3 separate regions of the Homo sapiens genome follow, and regions 1 and 2 are each linked to region 3. Evidence: promoter capture Hi-C in human tissues and cell types (Jung and others, 2019). All regions are on one chromosome and are shown on one strand. The core of a region is centred on a gene start or on the middle of the fragment in contact, and the rest is flanking DNA. Distances in the headings are between cores, read along the strand shown.

Region 1 (4,648 bases), core at 874-3,373, 45 kb after region 3:
TTTTGTAGAGACAGGGTCTTGCTATCTTTCCCTGGCTGGTCTTGGTCTCCTGGCCTTAAGTAATTCTCCTGCCTCGGCCTACAAAGGTGCTGGGATTACAGGCATGAGCCACCGTGCCTGTCCAAATATTTTCGTATTGAGTGAATGAGAGGTGCGACAGTCAAGAAAGAATGAATGACCCTGGGTTTGTAATCAAGGGATCATTCAGTAATGGGGGGTGGGGGGAATAAGATGGGCAACCAGCGACTCCCACGCCAGCCATCCTGGAGACCCGCCGTTATGTTCTTTAGGGCCACTAGCAAGAAATGGGGCCAGATAACCTTTGGCGATGGAGGCTTGGGAATATGGGGTTAGCACAGTCATTTGCTGCTGGGACCAGTGGTATCTGGTTCAACAAATTTTCATGAGCATCAGGAGGATATTATGGTCTGTATTCTGGATCCAGATGAACTAGGATTCAAATTATGATTCTGCCACTTGCTGTCTACGTGATCTCGAGCAATTCACTTAACATCTCTGTGCCTGCGTTGCCCCATCTGTCAACTCAGGTAATAGGATTGTGGCATGGAGACAATGAGTTAATATGAATGAAGTGCTTAGCACCATGGCTGACACCTAGTAAGCATTATGTAAGTGTTTACTTTTGACTTTTATTAATAGAATGAATCCATGAATGAGCTATTTCAAAACCAGAAGAGGTCCAGAGAGGGTTTCACAAAGAACCAGGGAGACACCTCATGTGAGATGACCTGCACACAACCATCTACCTTTGCTTTGTTCATGAAGTACGTCCACCTTCCCAACCAGGGGATCTCATTTGGGTAGGCTTGCTGCCTGGTGTATGAAGCACCTCTGTTGGGCAGAACTTGTACCAAGCTACCTGAGAGACGCTTAGGAAGCTTCCTCATGCCAGATCTGCATGTGAGGATTTTGGCTTCCACATGGCTCTCTGGTGAAATGCATTAGGGCTATGCAGGCTGTTACATTCTGGCTTTTTATTAGTTTAACACGCTGACACCAACACGCTGCTAGTATATGATACTATTATCTAAGCATTGAAATTGGTGCAGACCATTGCTTAATCAGACCAACTTCTCATTTCCATCTCCCAATCCCAGTTTCCATTCTCTATATCAACTTCCAAAAACTCACTGCTAGCTCCTGGCTTTGATGACCCATTTTGGACACTTCTCTAGCCTGATATGTATTTGAAGAACAGGTGAGTTATCTGGTTTTTTTGTTTTTTTGTTTTTGTGAGAAGGAGTTTCACTCTTGTTGCCCAGGCTGGAGTGCAGTGGCGCGATCTCGGTTCACTGCAACCTACGCCTCCCAGGTTCAAGTGATTCTCCTGCCTCAGCCTTCTGAGTAGCTGGGATTACAGATGCCCACCACCACGCCCAGCTAATTTTTTGTATTTTTAGTAGAACAATTTGTTCACCATTGTTGGCCAGGCTATTCGTGAACTCCTGACCGCCACCGTGCCCTGCTTTTTTTTTTTTTTTTTTGAGACAGGGTCTTGCTTTGTCACCCAGAGTAGAGTACAGTGGTACCATCATGGCTCACTGCAACTTTGAACTCCTGGGCTTAAACAATCCTCCTGCCTCAGCCTCCTGGGTAGCTGGCCCTATGGGCATGTGCTACCATGCCTGGCTAATTTAAAAATGTTTTTGTAGAGACACGATCTTGCTATGTTGCCCAGGCTAGTCTCAAACTCCTGGACTCAAACAATCCTCCCGCCTTGGCCTACCAAAGCTCTGGGGTTTCAGATGTGAGCAACTGTGCCTGGCCTGTCTGGAAGGAACCATTCATTGCTGGGCTGGGATTAGCTCTCATTTTCCAAGTGATTCACCTGCGTGTGTCTGAACAGAAACAGTGATGTTCAAAAAATCTACAGAAACATTATGTACACAAGACCGAGGACTAGGAAAATTTTTCAGTACTCTCCAAGCCTAAATACCTCTCTTAAACTAACAAATAAGCTATGAAAGCAAGGTATGCACCTTGTATAAAATGTATAAAATATGGGAAACATAATGAAATGAATAAGAATCTTTTTTTTTTTTCTGGAGACAGAGTCTCACTCTGTCACCCAGGCTGAAATGAAGTGGCACAATCTTGGCTCACTAAAGCCTCCAACTCCTGGTCTCAAGAGATCTCTTGCTTCAGCCTCCTGAATAGCTGGAACTACAGGTGCATGCCATCACAATTGACTTTTTTTTTTTTTTGTAGAGGTGAGGTCTTGCTATGTTGCCCAGTCTGGGTCTTGAACTCCTGGCTTCAAGCCATCCTCCTGCCTCACCCTCTCAAAGTGCTGGGATTATGGCCACAAGCCACCATGGCCAGCCTTATTTTTTGTTTTACTATCCAGAGATACTTATTCTGAACTTGATCTTGATTTCACTCTAACCATTTCCACATTCATTCCCCCACCATGCCTCTGTGTGTGTGTGTGTATGTGTGCATGCATATACACAACTATACATATTTCCCTTCTCCCAATATACTGAAGCCCAAATACTTCTAACTCAGGCCAATAGGGAGTTATATTTCTTTGTGAAATTAGCTCTCTGATTTTTATTTATTTTATTTATGCATTATTAATTTTTTTAGAGACAGAGTCTTGCTCTGTTGCTCACGCTGGAGTGCAGTGGTGTGATCTTGGCTCACTGCAACCTCCTCCTCCTGGGTTCAAGCAATTCTCCTGCCTCAGCCTGCTGAGTAGCTGGGACTACAGGGGCCCACCACCACGCCCAGCTAATTTTTTGTATTTTAATAGAGATGGGGTTTCTCCATGTTGCCCAGGTTGGTCTCGAGCTCCTGAGCTCAGGCAATCCACCCGGCTTGGCCTCCCAAAGTGCTAGGATTACAGGCATGAACCACCACACCTGGCAGCTCTCTTGATTTTTATAATAAAGAACACTTTATAGAAATTCCTTTTTGCAACTTTGCTGGGGCCACCTGTTCTATATACTGATTCATGCAATGTAGGGAGCAGAATTCTGCTTTTGGGCGAAATCGAGTGAAATTGCAGAATGGATGAAGAAGGAGCACCTTCTAAAACTTCTAGCCTTTTTTCTTTTCTTTTCTTTCTTTTTTTTTTTTTTGGCATTACATGGAGATGCCCTTCGCTGTGAAATCTTGGCAGGTAATTATCAGAGACCCCTTTTTAGGTTCCCCGATGTCTTCCCTTCTGGGACACCAGGTTCTACTTTTAGTAGGTGCCCCTCTTTCTCTTGGAGATAATCACATCAATTGGTCTCTCATTCCAGGGGGATATGACCTAGAATCTGTTTTGTCTTTGAGAAATGAGGTCGCTTTTCTGGTGGAGGTGTCAGGAGATGGTGGGAAGCCCCAGGCTGGGAGAGGAGGTGCTTCCTGGTTCTTCCCTGTCATCTCCTGCAAAGGCAGTGACCTTGCTGGTCAGTGAGTGACAAGGACCTGTGTCTATGGCTGTACCCCTGGTCAGTCCCTCAAAATGACTCAGGCAGGCCAGGCACGGTGGCTTATGCCTGTAATCCCAGCACTTTGGGAGGCTGAGGTAGGCAGATCAGTTGAGGCCAGGAGTTCGAGACCAGCCTGGCCAACATGGTGAAACCCCATCTGTACAAAAATGCAAAAATTAGCTGGGCGTGGTGGCACATGCCTGTAATCCCAGCTACTCAAGAGGCTGAGTCATGAGAATCGCTTGAACCCGGGGGGCGGAGGTTGCAGTGAGCTGAGATTGTGCCACTGTGCTCTAGCCTGGGTGAGACAGAGACTCTATTACAAAAAACAAAATAACAACAACAACAACAACAACATCCCACAAAAAACAAAAAGACAAAAATGAAAAACACAAACCGAAAACAAACAAACAAACAAACAAACAAACAAAAATAATGGCTCAGGCATCCATCATCAACGTCTTCCTGCAATGGACAAATTCCAGTTTCTTTTCTATCCTGCTCAACTTGACCTCCTGGTAGCTTTGAAATTGTCAGCCCTCTGTGACTTGAATCCCCTCCCCTGTGCTCTTTCACATGTTTTCTTTTTCACCTCTACTCTGTGTTCTTTACTAGCTGGTTGTCCGCCATCCACCCCTCAAATATGATGGATTTCTTTTTCAGCTGGGTTAGGCATCTTCAGATGGCCCTGAATGGTCCTCACCTCCTGATCCTCATGCCCTGTGTAATCCCTTGAGTGTGGGCTGGACCTGATGTGTCACTTGTAACCAACAGCCTATGGCAAACATGATAGATGCTGCTTCTGAGATTAGGTTACAAAGCGATCATGGCTTCTGTTCTGCTCTCTCTTGCTTGCTCTTTCACTTGCTCACTCTGAAGAAATCCAAGCCAGGCATGGTGGCTCATGCCTATAATTCCAGCACTTTGGGAGGCTGAGGTAGGAGGATTGCTTGAAGCCAGGAGTTTGAGGCTAGCCTGGGCAACATAGCAAGACCCTGTTTCTTAAAAACAAAAAACAAAACAAAACAAAAAACCCAACCCAAACCAAACCAAACAAAACAAAAAACAGCTGGATGTGGTGGTGCATATCTGGAATCTGAGCTACTCAAGAGGCTGGGGTGGGAGGATCGCTTGAGCCCAGGAGATGGAGGCTGCAGTGAGCTATGATCGCACCACTGCACTCCAGCCTGGGTAACACAGCAAGA
Region 2 (4,139 bases), core at 909-3,408, 54 kb before region 3:
TTCAGTTTGGACAGGGGAGACTTAGGCTAGAGGGTGACTAAAAAATGGCAGGGTCCTGAGTCATCTGGAGGTGTCTTCACTCAGAGGTCTTGCAACTGACGCCAGCTGTTGCTGGGGCTGTGGACCAGGGTAGCTACACAGGCCTCTCCGTGTGGTTCGGGTTTCCTTCCAGCATGGTGGTCTTGGGGTAGTCAGACTTCTTAGACAGCCACCCAGCCCTCTAAAAGTGAACAAGGAAGAAGTTGCATCTCTTCTGACCCAGCCTTGAGTGTCATGCTGTGTCACTTCTGCCACCAGATTCAAGGAAAGGGGGCACAGATTATACCTCTCTACATGGGAGGCATGTCAAGGTGACATTGTACAAGTGGATGTAGGGTGGGAGATATTGTGGCCATCTGGGAAAATATAACCTGTCTTAGCCCTACATTTCATTCTCCATATATTACCCACAGTGGACTTAAAACTGAAATCAGATTGTGGCACCATCCTGCTGAATAGTGTTCCTATGACTGCTCACCTCACCTAGAATAAAATTCAGATTCCCAGCATGGTCTCACAAGACTTCCAGCCTCATCTCTTTGGCTGTCCCATTCACTCACCATGGCCTCCTTTCTGGTTCTCCTTCATATCAAGCTATTTCTGCCTCAGGTCCTTTGCACACATGGTTCCTTCTGCCTGGGAAGCCCTGGTTCTTCTGAGGCCACCTCTCTCTCATCCTTTAGGTCCAATGGCACCTTCTAGGGAGACCCTTTCTGTCCACCACCTCTGTCTAGTCAGTATCACATTACTCAGTTTCCTTTCTTCTAACACTTGCCACAACTTGAATTTAACAGTCCCAGTGGTTTGTTCTAGTTTATCTGCCTCCTCGTCCAGACTGGGTCTCCACCAAGTGATCAAGTGATGCTTGTCTATGTTGTTCACTGCTGAATATTCAGGTAGGAGATCAGGTGTCAGGTGATGGAGGTCTGTATAGGAGGGGGTGTCCAAGAGGCCTGGACGAGGAGGCTGTGTGTGTTTGGTTTTAATGTGTCTTTGTGTGGTTCTCTGTGTTTATTGTACTTGGAGTTTGTTGAGCTTTGTGGATATGTAGATTCATGTCTTTCATCAATTCTGGGCTTCTGGGAAGTTTTTTGGCCATTATTTCATCAAATATTATTATTATTATTTTTTGAGATGGAGTCTCACTCTGTTGCCCAGGCTGGAGTGCAGAGGCATGGTCTTGGCTCACTGCAACCTCTGCTTTCTGGGTTCAAGTGATTCTCCTGCCTCAACCTCTCAAGTAGGTGGGGTTACAGGTGCCTGTCACCATGCCCAGCTAATTTTTGTATTTTTAGTAGAGATGGGTTTTCGTCATGTTGGCCAGGCCGGTCTCAAATTTCTGACCTTAAGTGATCTGCCCACCTTGGCCTCCCAAAGTGCTGGGATTATAGGCATGAACCACCATACCCAGCCTCATCAAATATTCTTTCTGCTCCTTTCACTTCTCTCCTTCTGGGACTCTCATTATGCATATATTGGTATACTCATTATACAACTGTTGATATACAGTTCTCCTAGGTGCTGTTCACTTTTCTTGGATATGTGTGTTTGGGGGGCATCAGTCTGTAAAAGGGTGGAGTGCACCCTCCTCCCTATGAGATCCCTGCGCAGATGTCTTTGAGGCAGCTATTGACAATGGGGAAAGAAGTCAGGGGTCAAGACAATACCTGTTTACAAGTTGAGGGTAGAGGCTGCAGGACTAAGGTCCCAATGGGGTATTTCAGAGTCTCAGAGGAGCTGGGGTCTGACATGGGAGTGAGAGCAACCCTTAGCCCCACCCATATGACACCCACATACCACATAAATATTTATTATTATTATTTTGTGTAAATCTTTTTGAGTTTTTGTACTTTTCCTGTTGTCTTTATTTGCCTGCATGTAGCCTATTTAATTCACCATTGGCTCTGATTCTTTCTTAGCAATCAGAAATTTCCATAAGTGAGAACAGATTATCTGCAAATTGTATGTAATGAAATGGTTATGAATTCTAAGTTTCATAATGATGTTTGTATGCTTATTCCTGTGGATTTTGCTAGTTGCTGTACAGATTTTAGAGCCTGTATGCGTACATTTTCTTTTCTTTTCTTTTATAGAGACATAGTCTTGCTTTGTTGCCCAGGCTGGAGTGCAGTGGCACGATCTTGGCTTACTGCAACCTGTGACTCCCTGGTTTAAGCGATGCTGCTGCCTCAGCCTCCTGAGTAGCTGGGATTACAGGCACACACCACCACGTGCAGCTAATTTTTATATTTTTAGTAGAGATGGGGTTTCACCATGTTGGCCAGGATGGTCTCGATTTCCTGACCTTGTGATCCATCCACCTTGGCCTCCCAAAGAGCTGAGATTACAGGGGTCAGCCACCGTGCCTGGCCCATTTTCTTTTCTTTTAAAAAAATTTATTTTCATGGCCGGGCACTGTGGCTCATGCCTGTAATCCCAGCACTTTGGGAGGCTGAGGCGGGTGGATCACGAGGTCAGGAGTTCAAGACTAGCCTGGCCAAGATGGTGAAACCCCGTTTCTACTAAAAATATAAAAATTAGCTAGGCATGGTGGCAGGCACCTGTAATCCCAGCTACTCGGGAGGCTGAGGCAGGGGAATCGCTTGAACCCAGAGGGTAGAGGTTGGAGTGAGCCAAGATCGTGCCACTGCACTCCAGCCTGGGTGACTAAGACTCTGTCTCAAATTTTTTAAAAATTATTTTCATGTTATTTTTATTTACTTTATTATTATTATTTTATTTATTTTTCTTGCTCTGTTGCTCAGGCTGTAGTGCAGTGGCACTACCACAACTCACTGCACCCTCAACCTCCTAGGCTCAAGTGATGTTCCTGCCTCAGCCTCCCAAGCAACTGGAACTACAGGCATGTGCCACCATGCCACAGGCTGATTTTTCTATTTTTTTGTGGAGATAGGGTCTCATCATGTTGCCTAGACTGTTCTCAAACTTCTGGGCTCAAGTGATCTTCCCACTTTGGCCCCCCAAGTGGCTGGGATTACAGGTGTGAGCCACCGTGCTTGGCCTTATTATTTTTAGAGACATAATCTCCCTCTGTCACCCAAGCTGGTGTGCATTGGTGTGATCATAGCTCACTGCAGACTTGAACTTCTGGGTTCAAGCAATCCTCTTGCCTCAGCCTCCTGAGTGGCTAGGCCTATAGGCATGCACTGCCATACCCAGCTAGCTTTTAAATTTTTTTTGTAGAGACAGGATCTTGCTATGTTGCCCAGGCTGGTCTCAAACTCCTGACCTCAAGCGATCCTTCTTCCTTGGCCTCTCAAAGTGCTGGGATTACAGGTGTGAGCCACTGCACCTGGCCACGTGTGTGTTTTCTTTCCCCTAAATGTTCTCATTGGCTGCAGGTCTGATGTGCTGTGCTTTTGGTACCTGGTGGATTAACCAGCCCCAGACACATATAGACCAATTAGTTGAAAGACCAAAAGACCATTTCCTGTCAGTTTTGGGCAGAGCTCAGCACCTCTGTGGTAGTCAAGGGGAATTGATGGATAAATACCCCAGCTCCCTCACCCTTGTGTTGGATGATTGAGGTTCATGTTCTACACTGACCCCTAGTGTTCACCCACGGGATTGAGCTCCAGCTGTCCACTGTAGAAACCTGGTTATCAATACACTCTTTGCTGACTTCCTTCCCTTCCCTCTCCCACATATCCACCCCACTTACAGTATTTCCTGTTTATTTCCTAAATACTTGAATCCTTGTCTCAAGGTTGGCTTCTGGTGGACTCCAAACACAGACATTCTGTCTAGGCCTCTGTTTCATGTGCAAAGGGAATAATAAATTAGGCTGTTTTCAAGGCTATGGGCATGGGGCGTGGTTCTGTGGGGCTACATCTCCATTCTACCAGCTCCCTGGGGTGCTCAGTTCCTGGGGGATGGGAGATAGAGAAGGTTTTGGGGAGCAGGACCCAAGCTTCCTCCACCCGCTGTGGTCATTCCCATTTGTTTCCACACCTGAGGCTTGCGTCTATCTGGCATCTTCCAGGAGAAGAAGGTGAATACCTCAGCCTGCCTAGGCCTCCCTGGCTGGAAGTCAGACCTCAGAGGAACCAGCAAAGGGGTGGCTGCCCAGAGATATCCAT
Region 3 (4,143 bases), core at 181-2,680:
CCATCCTTTTATTCATCAACCCATCCACCAATTTATCTTTCCACTTACCTATCTATCCACTCATCCATCCATCCATCCACCCACTCACACATCTATTCATCCGTCTGTCTACCCATCTATTAATCAGTCATCCCATATACCCATTCATTCTTCCATCAACCCATTTATCTACCCATCCATCTATCTATCCATCCACTTATTCATCCAACCACTCATTCATTCATCCATCCATCCATCCATTCATCCATTATCTCTCTCTGTCTTCCATCCCTCCATCTATTCTATCTTCCAACTATCCCTCCATCTAGCCCTCCTTCTATCCATTCCTTCATCCATCATCTCTATCTTCCATCTATCCATCCACCTATTTACTTATCCATCTACCCACCCACCCATCCATCCATCCATCCATCAATCCATCCACCCACCCACCCACCTACCCAGCAAATATTTTCTGGGTATCTATTATGTGTTATGCACTTAGAATCCATTAAGTAAGACAGACATGCTCCCTGACTTTCTGTCCTTCTGTAGCTCTAGTCTGTGACAGAAATGAATATTAAATCTCTCTCTCTCTCTCTCTCTCTCACACACACACACTCACACACACACACAGCAAGTGCTGTGACGAAAGAGGAGCCAAAGATTGTGAGGGAGGAAGTGGAAGGAGCATAGCCCTGGAGCCAGAACCGAATCCTGCCTCAGTCCCTTCCCAGCTGTGTGACCTTCGGCATCTCACTCTCCTCTCTGAGACTCGATTTTCCCATCCGCAAAGGACCTGGGGAGAGCTCTAGGTGCTTAACAGCAATGGTGACCCAGGTAGGTTTTAGGATCCCTCTTGACCTCCTGGAACTTTCCTCTTCCTTCTCTGGACTCTCACAGCTCTGCTTGCTCCTACTTGAATTACAGCAGTGTTTTTGATTCTTACTCTCATGGCTGAACTGGCAGCTCAGTTTTCAGGACTGAAAGCCTGACTTCATTATCTCTGTCTCCATCATGGCCAACAGTGTGGCAGGGAGCACAGAGGTGGTGTTGGAGAGAATTTGCTGAGTAAACAAATAAGAAAAAAATGAACAGATGAAAAGAAAGAGGGGATGGATGGAAATTTCTTCCATTCTGCCAAAACTGGCCAGAGCATTAATTCATGAAGGGAGAGGGAGCGTATGTGTGTATGTGCGTGTGTGTGTGTGTGTGTGTGTGTGTGTGTGTGTGAGAGAGAGAGAGAGAGAGAGAGAGAGAGGCTAATATCCACCAAATCACTTACCAACTCTAGAGGCAGCTGTTCCTCAAGGCCAAGTTCAATCTCACTACTCTCCTAGTTGCCAATACTGAGCTGGGCACCGAGGAGGAGTCAGGCCCACGTACTGATCTTGGAGAAGGGGCTGACAGTGTGGAATCTCCCGGGGTTTCTCCTGAGAAGCCTGGTCTATGAATCGGGTGGCACAATCACCTGGCCCTTTATTGTCGGTGAGTTTTCTGTCACTCAAGAAACCTCATGACACACCCTTGGCACACAGCTGTGGTGTGGAAATGGAGCCAACGCCAATGGGATGAGTGATCGCAAGGCTGAGGGGACTCCCTCTGGCAAAGGTGGCCTAGGCAGAGAGTCTAAATGAGTCAGATGTCTGTGCCAGCCCAGCCACAACCTCTCCCAACCCCCATCCCATAGCCAGCCCATCTGGTTATTACCATCATCATTATGCCTAGTTTATTCATCTCACCTTCCACTGTGTAGATAACACCGACTTCACTTAGTTATTATCTCATCGAGTCTTCAAGAGTCTAGACAGATCAGTATTTTTGCTCCCATTTTGCAGATGGAGAAACTGAGGCTCATAGAGGTGAAATGACTGCCCAAGGTCAGCAATTGGCACAGTTGGCATTCAACCCTATAAGGGGTGAGGTGTGGTGGGTCACGTCTGTAGTCCCAGCGCTTTGGGAGGCCAAGGCAGGAGGATCGCTTGAGGTGAGGAGTTTGAGACCAGCCGGGGCATAGTGAGACCCTGTCACTAAAATAATAATAATAATAAAAATGATGGCATATACCTATAGTCCTAGCTACTCAGGAGGCTGAGGTAGGAGGCTGGCTTGAGCCTAGGAGTTTGAGGCTGCAGCGAGCTAAGATTGTGCCTCTGCACTCCAGCCTGGGTGACAGAGCAAGACTCTGTCTTAAATATAAAAACAAACAAACAACCCCTAAAATGTTCCAGCCCAGTTGCCTTAACTGATGCATCATGATGATTCCTCTCTTCCTCCTCCTCTTATTATTTTTCAGCCATTTTGTTTCATTTTATTTCTTATGTTAATAGTGAAACCAAAGGCGAACCTGATTAAGCCCTCCAGACTTAATCTGCCTTGCGTTTAATTGCTTACTTACTTTTAATTGCTTACTTATAGTTGATCTTAAAAGCGCCACTAGCAAGTCACGTAGCCAAATAATGCATAACTAAACTCCCACTGGCTTCCTTACAGATAACATTTTTGTCTGTGGGACACTATAGTAATGGGTGCTTAAAGTTGTTTTTCAGGAACTAGGTAGGAGGCAGCTCTTGTTTAGTTTAAGCCAGTGGAGATCACTGACCCTTCAACTGCACCTATGTGGGTAGCTGATATCAGAGGGCCGTAAACTCCACCTTCAGATCATGCTAAATGCTATTTTTTGCACAAATGTCCTATCTAAAGCCATGTAGCTCAACCATGCTTGCTCAGAAATTCTGATTACCTCACCTTCCCTACCTGCCAGTCACCTTTCTCCGTACTTTAGATCACCCCGTTTTCTATCCCATAAGCACCCTCAAACCCTATTTTTGGGGAGGAGAATTTGAGACCTGTTTTACCACCTCGTCGCTTAATTGCCTCATGAACGAACTCTTCCTCTTCTGCAAAATCTGTCATTACATTGATTGGCTTGCTGCACAGAGGAAGAACAAACTCGGTTCGATAGCAACAGCTTAAATGAGATATAATTTACGTATTATACAATTCACCCACCTGAAGTGTGCAATCCAGTGGGTTTCAATATATTCACAGTGATGCAACCATTGCGTCAGTTCATTTTGGAACATTTTGTTTTTTCTTTTTTCGGAGATAAGATCTGTCACCCAGGCTGGAGTGCAGTGGAGCGATCACAGCTCACTGCAGCTTAAAACTCCTGGGCTTATTCGATCCTTCCACCTCAGCCTCCTGGGCAGCTGGGACTACAGGTGTGCACGTACATGCCTTGCTACTTTTTTCCTCAAGATTTTTTGTAGAGACAAAGTCTTGCTGTGTTGCCCAGGCTGGTCTCGAACTTCTGGCCTCAAGGGATCCTCCCCACTCGGCCTCCCAAAGTGTGAGATTACAGGCGCGGGCCACCACACCTGGCTCATTTTAGAACATTTTTATCACCCCCCAAAAGAATCCCAGTACCCTTTAGCTATCACTCCCAATCTCTCCATACATCCCAGCCTTAGGCAACCACTAGCCGAGTTTCTGTCTCTGCAGGTTTCCCTGTTCTGGATATTTCACAGAAATAGAATCATACACTATGTGATTTTTGTGTCTGGCTTCTTTCATTCAGCATGATGTTTTCAAGAACAGTATTGCAGGGATGTTGGTTTGTTGTCTCCTGTTTCATTTTGTTTTGGTTTTTAGAGAGCCAAGTGTTAGATGTCTTTCAGCAAACCATTGCAGACACTCCCATTCCAATTCCTTCCCCTAAGATCCAGCCTTCTTAGCTGACCAGATCCTATAAATCAATGAGATTTCAAGGAGGAGGAAGATAGCATCCACATGGTAGCATATATTAGAACTTCATCCCTTTTTCTGACTGAATAATAGTCCATTGTACAGATATACCTCATTTTGTTTATTTATTCATCTGTGGAGGAACATTTCAGTTGTGTTAGGCTTTTGGCTATTTGAAGGATGCTGTTATACATATTTATGTACAAGTTTTATGTGGATTTTTTTTTGAGACAGGGTCTCACTAAGTTGCCCAGGCTGGAGTGCAATGGTATGATCTCAACTCACTACAACCTCTGCTTCCCGGACTCAAGCAATTCTCCAGCCGCAGCCTCCCCAGTAGCTGGGACTACAGGCGTGCACCACCATGCCAGGCTAATTTTTTGTGTGTTTTTTGTAGAAACTGGGTTTTGCCATGTT

Evidence for each region. Contacts are between HindIII fragments. The study calls those that stand out against the background at their distance.
Region 1: a fragment that was not itself captured here is called in contact with the fragment with the promoter of CASP14 in region 3 in 3 of the 25 tissues and cell types used here (mesendoderm cells, pancreas and stomach).
Region 2: a fragment that was not itself captured here is called in contact with the fragment with the promoter of CASP14 in region 3 in 5 of the 25 tissues and cell types used here (H1 embryonic stem cells, adrenal gland, bladder and 2 more).

What each region holds. Positions count from the first base shown.
Region 1 is chr19:15,002,117-15,006,764 of GRCh38, reverse strand. It overlaps a transcript of SLC1A6 not described here. Among named protein-coding and RNA genes, the nearest start is that of TEKTL1, 6.3 kb to the left of the region's middle. The HindIII fragment of the contact is 9,530 bases long and covers 1-4,648 here.
Region 2 is chr19:15,101,143-15,105,281 of GRCh38, reverse strand. No RefSeq gene overlaps it. Among named protein-coding and RNA genes, the nearest start is that of SYDE1, 4.2 kb to the left of the region's middle. The HindIII fragment of the contact is 6,045 bases long and covers 1-4,139 here.
Region 3 is chr19:15,046,767-15,050,909 of GRCh38, reverse strand. It overlaps CASP14 (caspase 14), which reads right to left and starts at 1,430. Exons shown (of 7, transcript NM_012114.3): 1 at 1,265-1,430. The HindIII fragment of the contact is 29,360 bases long and covers 1-4,143 here.